2 separate regions of the Homo sapiens genome follow, and region 2 is linked to region 1. Evidence: promoter capture Hi-C in 16 types of primary human blood cells and fetal thymus (Javierre and others, 2016). All regions are on one chromosome and are shown on one strand. The core of a region is centred on a gene start or on the middle of the fragment in contact, and the rest is flanking DNA. Distances in the headings are between cores, read along the strand shown. Region 1 holds the start of DNAJC5G (DnaJ heat shock protein family (Hsp40) member C5 gamma). Region 2 overlaps DPYSL5 (dihydropyrimidinase like 5).

Region 1 (3,786 bases), core at 109-2,608:
CACTTTTGGAGGCTGAGGCGGGTAGATCACTGAGGTCAGGAGTTCGAAACCAGCCTGGCCAACATGGTGAAACCCCGTCTCTACTAAAAATACAAAAAAAATTAGCCAGGCGTGGTGGCAGGCACCTGTAATCCCAGCTACTTGGAAGGCTGAAGCAGGAGAATCACTTGAACCCGGAAGGCAGAGGTTCCAGTGAGCAGACATTGTGCCACTGCACTCCAGCCTGTGTGACAGAGTGAGACTCCACCTCAAAACACAACAAAACAAACAAAAAAAACCTACAAGGTGAGGAAAATGTGCACAAATAACTGTAATAAAAGGAAGAGAGTGATAAAAGCTACAAAAAGGTTAACAGATAAGCATTTTCCAAGTAACAAAGCTTTTTCTACTACATGTTACAGGAGCCATTGAGTGCTCTTGCAAAGAAAACCAGCACTACAAAGTAGTAAATTATAAGTGATGCAAACACTACCTCCTGTAGAAACTCACAGGAAGGGAAGCCAGGTAGAGGCATGCTCCCATGCCAGCAGGTGGGGATACAAATCCTCCTTCTGCTACCTTTCCAGAAGAAAGTTAGCAATAGAGATCAAGAGCGTAAAAAAAAAAGAAAAGAAAAAAGAAAAAAAAAATCATTTCGACCCAATAATTCCACTTCTAAGAATGTATCCTTAGGAAAAAAAATTAGACATTTGTTCAAGGATTTCTGTTGAATTTTCCTTATAAGGTTATTATATTATCAAATAGAAACAACTGAAACAGCCAAGTTGGGTTACATTATGGGACATGCTCATGATGGCATCATATTTAAGTGACGTTTTTGAAGCACGGTAGTGACTTTTGGAAAAGGCTCAATACATCATTTTAATGAGACGTGCAAACTCATCATTACGATATACTAGGAGAAATGCTTTGACAGACGAAGTGGGAACAACTGGGAGAGTGAATGATGGAGTGTCAGGAACAGGGGCATATGAGTTGGGTCTTCCAGGTTGTGGAGGTGTTTCCGGGTGGAAGAGAAGGAGGGACCAAGCGGAGAGCCCTAAGTCCTGAAGACAACTGGGAAGGTAACACACCTCTTAAGAAGGGCATGCAGCAGCCATACCTCTCATCCGCCACGGTCAGCAAACCCATTGTGTTTCCTGGAGTGAGTTGGGCCATCAAGATGGGTGGTGCCCTCCTGCTGGGGAAGAGGGGCTCGGTGGGAATCCCTGCCCCAAGGCCTGGCAGCAACGCTCCTACGCTGCCTTGGGCCGCAGGCCTGCTAAGCCCTCCGCTCTCGCTTCCCTGCGCGCGAAATAAGTCCCAGGGCCAATGTGGCCTCCCCACCCAGTGCTTCCGGGGGCGCCAAAAAACGACCTGCCCAGACCCTCAGCGTCGACGCTGCGCACAAGCGCAGTCAACTGCTGGACCCGGCCGGTGTGAAGTTTCACACCCAAAAGGATGAAGGGCACCCACCTGGCTTAAGAGAACGACTCCCAGGTAAAGGGCCAGACCCAGGTGAGGAGTCGGCACAGGGCCAGAGGTGCCCTGCACACTCAGAGCTCTCCCTTTGAGCTCCTTGCCTTGCTCGGTTCTCCTGGGCCGCAGGCGTCTACCCTGCTCTCTGGGGTTCCGCTGCCTTTTCCTTGCCAGGTCTTTCCCACAGCAACGCCTTTTCTCTTCCTTCTCCAGCCTCTGAGTCCTCTTCCTCCTCTCCCCACTGTCCCACCTCTGAGGGACAGAAGTGGGGTGGTTTGAGAGCAGGAGACTGGAGGGAAGAAGCAAGTCCAGGCCTAGCTGCAAGCACTCCCCACCCCCGCCCCCGCCCCCGCCCCCGCCCCCGCCAGGCTCTAGGACACTTGACTTCTGTTAGGCCTCACACGGTTTGGTCTGAAGTGTTTCTCTCTTAATAGCTGTGGATCGGCGAGGCTCAATGGCTCACGCCTGTAATCTCAGGACTTTGGGAGGCCGAGGTGGGTGGATCACCTGAGGTCAGGAGTTCAAGAACAGCCTGACCAACATGGTGAAACTCTGTCTCTACTAAAAACACAGAAAATTAGCCGGGCGTGGTGGCGTGCACCTGTAATCTCAGCTACTCGGGAGGCTGAGGCAGGAAAATCGCTTGCACCCAGGAGGTGGAGGTTGCAGTGAGCCGAGATCGCGCCATTACACTTCAGCCTGGGCAACAAGAGCAAAAAACTCCGTCAAAAAAAAAAAAAAGAAGAAGAAGTTGTGGAGCTGTCTGATTCCTGATCCTGTCCGTTCAGGCTGGGGCCGCCCTGGTCTTTCAAACCCAGCAGTGAGCTTGGACAGACCCAGAGGTGTTTACTCCAGGTAATAGGAGCTCTAGACAAAATCAGGCTCTTTTCCTGGCTTAGACCTCTCCCTGCTTACAACACCTCTAGGATGTGGGATATCTAGAGGTCTGTGTAGCTGGAGGATGCTGGGAAATGTGAGGAGAAGATGTTTCCTCCTTAAAATTGGAATCTTTCTGATCACCTGAATTCTCCTGCTAGCCACAAATCCCACTCACTCTTATCTTATCCTTGTCCTTCTGTCATCGTTTACCTGCCTAATCCCTGAAGGTAGTGAGTTTCCTGTCACTGGAAGTGCACTTCTCGGTACCCTTACTTGTAGAAGTTCTCACAGATGCTGCTTCTCCTCTGGCTCAGATCATGTCTACTGTGAAGGAAGCAGCACACCGGCTGTCCAAAAGTGAGATGAGCCTCTATGCAGTGCTGGATCTTAAGAAGGGCGCCTCACCTGAAGACTTCAAAAAATCCTACAGGTTCAGACCTCAGCCCTTTATTGATCCTTGGAATTTCCCCCTTAAACCTTTTTCTTTCTGTATCTCTTTTGCTATCTGACTCTTTTTTTTTTTTTTTTTTTTTGAGAGGAAGTCTCGTCCTGTCACAGAGCAGAGACAGAGACTATTGAGAGTGCAGTGGCACGATCTTGGCTTACTGCAACCTCTGCCTCCCAGGTTCAAGCAATTCTCTCACCTCAGCCTCCTGAGAAGCTGGGACTACAGGCGTGCACCACCACGCCTGGCTAATTTTTGTATTTTTAGTAGAGACAGGGTTTCGCCATGTTGGCCAGGCTGGTCTCAAACTCCTGACCTCAGGTGATCTACCTGCCTCGGCCTCCCAAAGTGCTGGGATTACAGGTGTGAACCACTGTGCCTGGCCTACGACCCGTTTGTTTGTTTGTTTGTTTGTTTGTTTGTTTTGAGACAGTCTCGCTCTGTTGCCCAAGCTGTAGTGCAGTGGTGCAGTCTCGGCTCACTGCAACCTCCACCTTCCGGGTTGAAGTGATTCTCCTGCCTCAGCCTCCCGAGTAGCTGGGATTACAGGTGCCTGCCACTATGCCCAGCTAATCTTTTGTATTTTTGGTAGAGACAGGGTTTCACCATGTTGGCCAAGCTGGTCTCAAACTCCTGACCTCATGATCCGCCCACCTTGGCCTCCCAAAGCGCTGGGATTACAGGTGTGAGCCAGTGCTCCCAGCCCTATGACCCATTTTTAAGTTCCAACAAGCCCTCACTTTGGGGCCAAATGGCACCATCACCCTCTTCATTATAGTATGGGAAGGAGTTTAGACCTTGGATGCTTGCCTCCATCCTTTGTACCACATCTCATGCATTCCTTCTGCACTCTCTAGAGACTAATCCATGTCATTCATCGTAAGTCTCCTTCCCCAGCCATTCCGCATTGCTTCCCCACCCTCCTTTTGAGTATCACCTGGGTAGGAAACTGGCCTTGCGGTATCATCCCGACAAGAATCCAGGGAATGCTCAAGCAGCAGAAA
Region 2 (3,494 bases), core at 814-3,313, 370 kb before region 1:
ATTTTAGAGATAGAATCTGGCCCTGTCACCCAGGCTGGAGCGTAGTGGCATGATCATAGCTCACTGTGGCGTCAACCACCTGGGCTCAAGCCATACTCCCACCTCAGCCTCCTGAGTAGCTGGGACTGCAGGCACATGCCACTGTGCCCAGCTAAGTTTTTTATTTTTATTTTTTGTAGAGACCGGATCTTGCTATGTTGCCCAGGCTGGTCTTGAATTCTTGGCTTCAAGCGATCCTCCTGCCTCAGCCTCCCAAAGTGTTAGGATTACAGGCGTCAGCCATCATGCTCAGCTTACTTAAACCTTTTTAAAACTCCACATTTACATTTTTATTTATTTATTTATTTATTTTATTTTTTTGAGATGGAGTCTTGCTCTGTCACCCAGGCTGGAGTGCAGTGGTGCAATCTTGGCTCACTGCAACCTCCGCCTCCTGGGTTCAAGCAATTCCCCTGTCTCAGCCTCCCAAGTAACTGGGAATACAGGCGCCCGCCACCATGCCCAGCTAATTTTGTATTTTTAGTAGAGACGGAGTTTCTCCATGTTGGTCAGGCTAGTCTCGAACTCCTGACCTCAAGTGATCCATAAGCCTCAGCCTCCCAAAGTGCTGGGATTACAGGCATGAGCTACTGCGCCCAGCCCACATTTACATTTTTAAAATAAAAAATCACCTTGGCCCCCCTTCATCTCACGGCTCTCTCTATGCCTGATGTCGTGTCCCTGCAATGGCTCCCTGTTGTCTAAGACATCAAGTTTGGATGTATGGATCTTCCCCCTGGGCAACCCCTGATCTGACCTTGCCCTCCCATCGACCCATCATGGCCAGCTGCTCCCCACACGCACCCATCCATCAGGAAGATGCCCTCCATGGACACCCCATGCTGCCTGTTGCCATCTCTCTCCACCCCTGCACAGAGCCCCTCCTTCAAGGCGAACAGCCTCTCGTGGCACTCCTCCTCCAGCTAACCCAGCTCCAGGATGTCACTTTCTTCTCGCCAGCTGAAATAACTTGTCATCCTAGGGCTTTCAAATTGTTTCCCATGTTAAGTTTGTTTCTCAACAAGATTGAAGACCCTTTGAGGAGCAGAGACCACGATTTAACTTGTGACTAGCCACAGAGCCCGCGTAGCCCTAACGGTGTAGTCGACATCCAAGAAATGGATGTCAGCATGGAGTGGGAGTTATCAGCACAGACTGGGGCTATGAATGCTGGAGTTCGGATTTCAGCTCCACATTTGCTTGCTATGTCATGTGGGCAAGTTAATCTCTCTGTTCCTCCATTGTCGTATGTCTTTAAAAGTGCTAATTGAGTTATTATTTGTAAAGAACTTAAAAGAATACTTGGTGCTTATTAAGCATTATGTGAATGTTTGTTAAATAAATAAATAGATCATGTTGATCAAAGTCAGATCCCTTAAAAATCCATTTGTACGAGCATACATATAAAACAGTTAAGCATCAAATAGGAACTGAAAGAACTGGATTTCATTCCTAGCGTTCGAATTTCTGTGTGTGTTTTAGATTTCAAACAGAGTCTGATAGTAATAGTGATAAATTCTAGATAATTTTCTGTCTTCTCTCTTTCTCTTAAAGGCAGAAATAGCCAGCAATAAACTCTGCAGGCATCAGGAGCTATTTAAAGGTGTCCTGCTTCAAACCAGCTACTTGCTTAACAAAACCTTGCTGGCAACTTTCATTCTACGTGTACATTAATTGGTAGGCCAAAATGTAGGCCAGGTTGATCCTTCTTAGAACTGATGTGAATGAGGAGATCTATCGTTTCTTATAAATTTGTATCTCTGGTATTGGGAAAAAACCTCCTATGGTGACCAAGCAGCTCCTCAACTTCTAGAATAGTGTTTGCAAAGAATTTATCAATGCAGATTATTGCATTTTTAAAACCTTTGATTCAGAATAAAATAAATACACCCTCTGTGATTGAGGCCAAGTGTCTTGGCAATCTTTCGTGCTTAGTACAAGAAGCTTTGCTTTATGCTGTCATCCACTGGAATTTATAAAAGGAAAAAAGGAAGAAGAAAAATATATACTGTATGTGCACTTCAATGATACATATTGCACATGAATGCCATTTTTCTGTCTTCTTCCATTTTTCTCCCTTCTTCCTCTTTTTCTTTTCTTAAATTAAGCTTGTATCTTTTTTAATATTTCAAGAAATATTTGAATATGGCCTTTTCTCAATTGGAAATATCTGTTCTCCCAAACCTCACAGAGGTTACCTTTGAAGTTGCCATATTTGTGTTGAAAATAAGGGACATATCTTGGTTCATTTACAGGTAGAAATTTGCGTAGGTGCCAGATCATCTCCCCTGGATAGTTTCAGCCTCATTGTTCCCTTGGGTGATTACTGCAGCCAGCCACATTTTTCTCTCCTTCTGATGCTTTTTTGTTTCTTGTTGACTAAAACTGAAGCCCTATAAGGATCTTTAATTAGTAACTAAACGAATATAAAACTGTGGGCCAACTACTGTAAGAACGTTCTCACTGACCATTGTTTCTCACTCATATTGCACACACATCACACACACCATCTCACATTCACACTCGCTCTCACACACACAATTTTAGAGCTGGAAGTACCATTAGAGATTAATAAATACTACCCCTAATTCATAAATAATTTTCCTGTTTAGACTTAAACGATCCACAGTATTCTCAATTAATATTTTAAAATAAAATTAAACAAGGCGGGGCTCAGTGGCTCGGTGGCTCACGCCTGTAATCCCAAAGCTTTGGGAGGCCAAGGCAAGAGGATCACTTGAGGCCAGGAGTTTAAGACCAGCCTAGGCAACATAGTGAAACCCCATCTCTACAAAAAATACAAAAATTAGCCAAGCATGATGGTGTGTACCTATAGACCTAGCTACTAGGGAGGCTGAGGCAGGAGGAGTTTGAGCTCACTTGAGCTCAGAAGTTTGAGGCTGCAGTGAGCTATGATCATGCCACTGCACTCCAGTGACAGAACAAGACCCTGTCTAAAAACAAAAAAAAAATTGGTAAATGTTAGTGAACTCCACTGTTGGGAAGAATATGTCTAGAAAGAGGAGAACATGATTAGGTAACCTGGGAAGCCACCTTTAAAAAAAAAAGGTATAATTAATGTTTGATAAGCTGCACATTTTAAAGTATACAGTTTGATACATTTTGACATATACATACATCAAGAAGCCATCACAATATAATAAACATATCCACCATTCCTGAAAGTTTCTTTGTGTTCCTGTAATTTTCCCCCAGCTCTCACCCCAGGTTACCACTATTTTATGTCACTATAGATTAGTTTGCATTTTCTACTATTTCTATATAAATGGAGCAATGCGATATGCATTCCTTTTTTTGTCTGGTTTCTTTCGCTCAGTAGTATTAAGTTTTTGGCTGTTAAAGATAAAGCTACTGTGAACATTCATATACATATATTTGTGTGGACATAGGCTTTTATTTCCCTTGGGTAATTACCCGGAAGTGGAATGTGTCTG

What was found. Contacts are between HindIII fragments. The CHiCAGO score rates a contact against its expected background, and 5 or more counts as called.
Region 2: a contact is called between a fragment that was not itself captured here and the fragment with the promoter of DNAJC5G in region 1, in 1 of 17 cell types (naive B cells). The highest score is 5.3, in naive B cells.

Annotation. Positions count from the first base shown.
Region 1 is chr2:27,274,075-27,277,860 of GRCh38, forward strand. It overlaps DNAJC5G (DnaJ heat shock protein family (Hsp40) member C5 gamma), which reads left to right and starts at 1,359. Exons shown (of 7, transcript NM_173650.3): 1 at 1,359-1,479; 2 at 2,032-2,313; 3 at 2,652-2,767; 4 at 3,680-3,786. The coding sequence starts at 2,655. It also overlaps a transcript of SLC30A3 not described here. The HindIII fragment of the contact is 3,678 bases long and covers 378-3,786 here.
Region 2 is chr2:26,906,773-26,910,266 of GRCh38, forward strand. The region is part of intron 2 of DPYSL5 (dihydropyrimidinase like 5); the gene reads left to right. Among named protein-coding and RNA genes, the nearest start is that of DPYSL5, 60 kb to the left of the region's middle. The HindIII fragment of the contact is 164 bases long and covers 1,982-2,145 here.